Regions from separate parts of the Homo sapiens genome. Here region 1 is linked to region 2. The links are contacts of gene promoters, found by promoter capture Hi-C in human tissues and cell types (Jung and others, 2019). All regions are on one chromosome and are shown on one strand. The core of a region is centred on a gene start or on the middle of the fragment in contact, and the rest is flanking DNA. Distances in the headings are between cores, read along the strand shown. Region 1 overlaps SRRM4 (serine/arginine repetitive matrix 4). Region 2 holds the start of HSPB8 (heat shock protein family B (small) member 8).

Region 1 (3,524 bases), core at 86-2,585, 170 kb after region 2:
CAAAATACAAAGTTAAGAAGAAAAGGCAAGTTTCCCAGCATAATACATTGTATTTTCATATAAAATATTTCTGGAAGAATACATTAGAAAGCACAATAGTAGTTGTGTCTAAAAGAAAGGAGTACAAAGTTAAGATGAAGGAAATTTTGGGGTTTTTTAATACTTCTGCAGTACTTTTTATAAACCATTGTCATGTGTAACTTTTATGATTAAAACTCATTTACAAAATATTTAGAAGAAAGCAGATCATTCAGTACTGAACTTAAAATCTGAAAATCATATCATTTGAATCTTAACCCTGGTTCATGTTCTGTTTTGGCTGTGTTGCACTGGGTTAATTGCTTAGCCTCTCTGGGCCTGATTTTTCTCATCTCTGAACTGGAAATGCTACAGATTTGTTGTTGTTGACATTCTTTATGCTACAGGAGGGGCAAAATGGTACAGAAAGGAAACAGCCTGATTGACTCCAAAATTTTGTTTGTTACTCATGTGCAAACATTGATCTAGTATTCTTGAAGATCATGTCACTTAACTTAGTTAAGGAAACAATAATGATGTTTCCCCACTGTGAAGGCATATCTGGAGATGCTGGAGGGTGATCCAGCATTCACCTTTCCTTCTGCTAATTCCACCTGTGGCCTAGTGCATGCTGAGAGTAAATAGCATTACCTCCCAGGTTGATGTAAAACACCTGGTGAAATTTTTCTTTGGCGCCTTCCCTAAGGTTTAGAGGGTAATTGGGTCTGTCTGTGTCTTGGGTAGGAGTCAATGAAGATGTAGTAAATATCAACAGAGAAAATCACCAAACAGAGGAAGTATCAATAGAGACAAGAAAAGCGGAAATGCACAAGTGAGAAGTATCTGACCACATAAAAATAAAGGAACATTGTAGGGTCTTTGCAGAGAAATATCAAAGAATCATGGGTTAAAGAACAAGGATAGAGACCACATGTGGCTGAAGGAAGAATTTGGCTCAGAGAGCAGGAGTGCCCTTGAAGAAAGAGAGCGGGACTCAGTGGTAGACAAAGATCATCTTGGGGGAGTCTGTTAGTTGAGAAAGAAAAGAACAGACAGGTAGAAGAATGAGAACAACAAGAGAAAACTGTGTTCTTATAATTGTTATAAATTTGCCCTACAGTTCCAAAGTGGGGAAAGGCTGAGTATGGGGGCAGGGAATGTGGCCAGGAGAGAAGAATTCACAGAGTTCACAGAAAGCTTTGTCTCTGAGGAATGTTGCTAAGTCAGGGGATATCCTCTCGGGAGATATATCATGGCAACCTTGATGAAAAAGACCCCCAGGTGAGTCCAGTTCAGATGCCAGGTCATGATGCAGCGTTTCCATCCCCCCATGGGGAGGACTCATTCATCTCTATCTTAAGGAAGTGGCCCTTGGTCAGCAAATTATAAACCCTTGCTGCACGAATGAATGAATGGTGCCCTTTCATTTCAGGGCAGACATCTGAATTCCCAGACGATGATCCCAGGGAGGTGAAAAAGAAAAGCTCTGGTCCTCTTTTTCCATGTAAAAACTATTGATTTATATCAGGACACTGTCTAATATACAATTTACAAACATTGTCACCAAGAGCATTATGGCAACCATTTACTGAGCACTTAACTAGATATCAGGACAGTGCTAAATGCTTGCAGATGTTACCTTACTTAATCCTCAAATTCAACCTATGAGGTGGACACTACCATCATCCCCATTTTACAGGTGAGCTTAGAGCTGAGGAAGGCAAAGTGGCCTGCCCAATGTTGCCCAGCTGAGATTGGCAACCAGGTCTTCCAATTCCAAGGCTCAAGCTATGTGCAGTAAGATGCCCACAACTGACACTCGGCAATGGCACTGGTCTCCCTATTTTGTAGAAGGGACAGACTCAGGGAGCTTAGCACTGTCAGACTCCAATCACATGCTCCTCCTTTCACTGTGCAGCTCTGCCACGCCCCAAACCCATGGGAAGGCAGGAGACACAAACCAATGTGGCTTTTATTTTATTTTTTTAATTTCCAAAGTCTTAGACATCTCTTGATTTGCAAACGTTGTCTTAATGGTCCTGAGGTTTTCAGCATTTCAGATTTTTCTGACTAGATCATCTAGGGGTAGATGGAAATGTATCTCTAGATGAGTGATTCTCAACCAGTGGCAACTTTGCTCCCCAGGGGACATTTGGCACGGTCTAGAGACATGTTTGATTGTCACAGCCCAAAGGGAGGGTGGTGCTAATGACATCTAGTGGGTAGAGGCCAGAGATGCTGCTAAACATCCTGCAGTGCACAGGACAGCTCCCCACAAGGAAGTATTATCTGGCTGGCCCTAAATGTCAGTAGTGCCAAGGTTGAAAAACCTGACTATAGAAATCTAATCTTCTTCATAGTACTTTGTTTATTTGTTTTTTGCCATGTATGTGTCTTCCACCTACTCTTCCTTTTTTTTCAAATTCATGTTTGTATACATAACTAACACAGGAGGAAAGCTTGTGAATGATGAAAACATTTTTTATTAAATATGTAGTCACAGAGATAAAGCTAAAATATCCCCCTCTTCTTCATATGTGATGCTGTCATTGACAGTTTGGTGTACATCCTTTGAAGCATTTTTCTACACATATATATTTATATAGAGTACATAGTGTTCTTTTGTATACATAGATAGATGCTTTTTCCTACATGTATTATATAAAATAACATTACAACTTGTGTGTCATCCCACAGTTTGCTTTTTCCTGTCACAGTCTTTTAGAGATCTATGTTTAATACACATGAATTTACTGCATTTTTTCAACTGTTGTATTGTATTCCATAATTATGCATATTTCATAATTTATTTAGCCATTTTCCTAATTAAGAGCATCTGGGCTGTTTGCAGATTCTTCCTGATAACAAACATGGCTGCAATAAACACTCTTGAACTCACCTCCTTTTTCCTTTAGTGTTGACATCAAGAGCTGGTCATGGAGTAGGCAGATTTTTTAAAATTTTTGATAAATGCTGAAATATCATATTCCCAAAAGGCTGCAACAGTTTACACTCCTAACAGCAATGTATGAGTGTACGTATTCCCAGATATCTTTGCCAAAATGTGATATTACCACACTGTTTTTAGTTTTAATCGATCTGGAGGGTACAAAATGTGTAGTTTAAACTCTGATTGAACAAAGAGAACTCTCAAAGTGGACAAACCCCTTGTTGGCCTCCCATGTAAGGGCTGACACTTTTCATCTTCAACCACTTAATATATGTGGGGTTCGCAATGATTCATCTCAGAAAATATTTTCTGAGGCTGGGCACAGTGGCTCATGCCTGTACTCCCAGCACTCTGGGAGGCTGAGGCGGGCGGATTACTTGAGGCCAGGAGTTCACAACGAGCCTGGCCAACATGGCGAAACCCCGTCTCTACTAAAGATACGAAAATTAGCCGGGCGTGGTGGTGGGTGCTTGTAGTCCCGGCTACTCAGGAGGCTGAGGCCGGAGAATTGCTTGAACCTGGGAGGCGGAGGTTGCAGAGAGCCAAGATCGCACCA
Region 2 (3,408 bases), core at 772-3,271:
CTGGCTGACCCTGTCATCAGCACGTGGCCCCAGCGTGTCTCCCAGCCCACCACACCCGCTGGAGCCTCTGATGTTTATAATTCTACCAGGACTGGCTTGAAACTCCCCCTGAATGCTGCTGGGGCTTGTTCCTGCCCAGCCTGTGTTTGCAATGGCTTTGACTGATTTTCTGGAAGGCAAGCCTCTGCCGGGAACACATTCTTTTTAATGGAGTGTTAATCAGGAGGGAAGGAAAAGAAAGATTTTTCTACTGCCCAGCTTCACAGGGGCTGAGCTTCCTGTCTTCTCTCATTTTTCCCCCTAGTATGTTTATTTCTCCCAGGGTGGGATGCGGCAGTGAGAGCCCTGGGCCTAAAGCTGTGCATAGGCCCAGTCCCTACTCCACTCCTATTGCTGACTCATGGCATGACTGTGAACGAGTCCCACCTAGGCCTCAGCCTCCTCAGCTGCAAGATGGGCCTACCCTGCTACCCTGGAGTGGACTGAGGATGATTTTGGAGAAGTATAAGAATGTCAGCCCACCCTTGGCACCTAGTAGGTGCTCAGTAAATCATCACTTCTTCTTTCTGGCCTCCTAATTCCCAGACAACCTGGGTCTGACTCCTTGGTGGCCTTGAACAAGTTACTTTAATCTCTCCGTGCCTCAGTTTCCTCATCTGAAAAAAGAAGATAAACAGTACCCACCTCCTCTGGTTGTGGTATTAGCTGAGATATTATAGGCAACAGCAGTTAGCAAAGTGCTGAGCGAATAGTTAGCACTCAGAGTTACCAGTTAGTGTTACTACAATTACTGGTAAGCCTCAGTTTCCCTGTCTGGGACAAGGAGAGGTGTTTCACCGGAAACCAGTTGCGGTTATTAACACTATCATTGTTCAGCCTTAACGTGCACTTCTAGACTCTGTTATGATGCTGGAGTGCACAAAATCCCGTTTCTTCTTTGTTTTTTAATTCTTTGATATCTGCTTAACCTATTCTTTATATTAAATGCCCTCTGTCAAAATATCCAACATGGTTTCTATTTTCCTGTCTGTACCATGATTGATGAGCACCCAGAGGCCCCAATAGCTGAGTCAGGCAGGTTAAGATCTCTGCTGGGAGCCGGGAGAGAAGTTTTCCGTAAAGATAACTTTGCAGGCTGCATTCCTGAGCCCTGAGGTCACCTGTGTCACACTGTCCCAACGTCAGCTCCCAGGAAACTTTCTCTGGCTATTCCCAGGGCTGAGGGCTACATCCCGGCCTCCCCATTCTCTCTCCCTCCTGCCCCTGACTTACCAGACACCTCCACGTATCCATCTTTGGTCTTCACCATCAACTCCTCTGGCTTGAAGCTGTGCACATTCACACACACTTTCCAGGGCTCCCCAGGGAAGGGTGGGGGGGTCCTGCCCTCGGCAGGCACCCCAAACCTGGCGGTGGCAGTGGGGCCCCGGGGCACCATGCCCGACCTTAGGGTGCCTGGCCAGGCGGAGGAGAGACGAGGCAGAGCCCAGTCGGGCCAAGAGGCTGTCAAGTCGTCTGGGAAGGGGTCCATGCCAAAGCCATCATCCAGCAGGCGAGAGGAGAGGGGAGAGTCCCGGAAGGGGTCTCGGCGCAGGCGGCTTGGGTAGTGGCAGGAGAAGGGCATCTGACCGTCAGCCATGGTGGCTGCTCAGCTCAGAGAGAAACAGAGGCTCAGAGAGACAGAACCACCTGCCCAAGGTCACACAACAAGGTGGTGTGGCTGGGCTAGCTTATTCTTCAGCTTCCGAAAATGCTGCTTTTCTGCAGGGAGAAGCAGAACCAACCACTGCCAGGGACGGTTGTGTCCCCTCGACTGGGGTCCCAGCCCCCAAAGGTAACCCCCGGGGCAGATCCAGCAGAATCCCAGAGGGTCCCCGTCCGCACTGCCTCACGACAGACCGGCAAGCCACCGTCCTCCCAGGCTTCCCAGGCTGCCCAGGCTGGCAGCCAGAACCGCTGAGGTCTAGAGCGGAGCCAGGAGCTTAATAAACCCAGGGCACGCGCGCCTAGAAACTTCTTCTGGCTCCTTCTGGGCTGCAAGCCTTCTATTTATTTGCTGCTGGAGGCTGGAGGCGGGTTTTGCAAGCGTCTCCTGTCACAGGAATATTCGGAGGTGATGAACCAGCCCCGGAGAATCCGCGGAGGGAACAGCTGGGCTGTGGGGGGAGCTGGGAGGGGCCGCGTCCAAGTTCAGCCGGCCTCTCCGGACACTCTCTCCTCCCCTGGCCACTCCGCTCAGCTCCGCCCTCCTCTTGCTCCAGGAGCTGGAGCCGCCCTCCCCGAGCGGGGCACTAAGGCCTGGCTATTAATAACCCCGAGCCTGGCTGAGGGCTCAGGTCACCCTCTGGAAATACCTTCCCTAGAGCGTGTCGTATCCTGCCTTTCCCCTGGGGACCTGCAGAAAGGGAAGAGAGAGACAGGAGCCCAGTGGATTTGAAGGATGGCCCTGGGTTGCAATCCCCACTTACAAGATGGCCAAGCTCCTAGAGCCTCAATGCCCTCTGGGGAGATTGGTAAAGGAAAAAAAAAATTTTTTTAATGTGTATATATATATTCATATGACGCTTGTTAAAGTATGACAAGCAAGACTTTACTGGGCAGGGAAACTTTCTCCATAGATGTAGGGACCCCTGCAATGGGATTTTGCAGTGAGGGAGAAAGATTAGACTTGATTCCCAGTAGGTCATGGGTAAGTGTGAATTTGTAGCCAAGAAGCAGGTGGGGGGTCAGCGAATGGAAATTTACTAGGAGGGAAGTCCAGGAGTCAGAGGGATTCGGGCTCAGCTAACCTAAGAGGATTCTTGCTGAAGACAGGCCAGGGTGCTCAGACATCACCTGGGGGACCGCGGAGGATGAGGAAACTAATCAGATATCGAGGGTGATCAGAAATCGAAGATGGGTGGTTGCTACTAAACAGACTTAGCAGAGTTCATGCCAAAACTGAATTTTTCTTTCTTTCTTTTCTTTTTTTTTTTTGAGACAGAGTCTCACTCTGTCCCCCAGGCTAGAGCGCAGTTGCGCCATCTCCGCTCACTGCAACCTCCGCCTTCCAGGTTCAAGCGATTCTTCTGCCTCAGACTCCCGAGTAGCTGGGATTATAGGCACCCGCCATCGTGCCCGGCTAATTTTTGTATTTTTTAGTAGAGTTGGATTTCACCATCTTGGCCAGGCTGGTCTTGAACTCCTGACCTCATGATCCACCTGCCTCCACCTCCCAAAGTGCTGGGATTACAGACGTGAGCCACCTCGCCTGGCCCAAAACTGAATTTTTATAAGGAACCTCACTGATGGGCTTAGGAGAAGATTCAGAAATCCGATTAATGTTTGGTCAATCAAAGCATCTTTATAGGCAGTAACATTATTCCCAGGCACCTCCAGGTTGTTAGTTTTCCTCCTTATAAACGGACA

Evidence for each region. Contacts are between HindIII fragments. The study calls those that stand out against the background at their distance.
Region 1: a fragment that was not itself captured here is called in contact with the fragment with the promoter of HSPB8 in region 2 in 2 of the 25 tissues and cell types used here (pancreas and thymus).

Annotation. Positions count from the first base shown.
Region 1 is chr12:119,010,110-119,013,633 of GRCh38, reverse strand. All of the region lies in intron 1 of SRRM4 (serine/arginine repetitive matrix 4), which reads right to left. Among named protein-coding and RNA genes, the nearest start is that of SRRM4, 30 kb to the right of the region's middle. The HindIII fragment of the contact is 5,955 bases long and covers 1-3,524 here.
Region 2 is chr12:119,177,544-119,180,951 of GRCh38, reverse strand. HSPB8 (heat shock protein family B (small) member 8) reads right to left here and starts at 2,021. Exons shown (of 3, transcript NM_014365.3): 1 at 1,273-2,021. The coding sequence starts at 1,639. RefSeq lists an enhancer at 1,669-2,418. The HindIII fragment of the contact is 13,927 bases long and covers 1-3,408 here.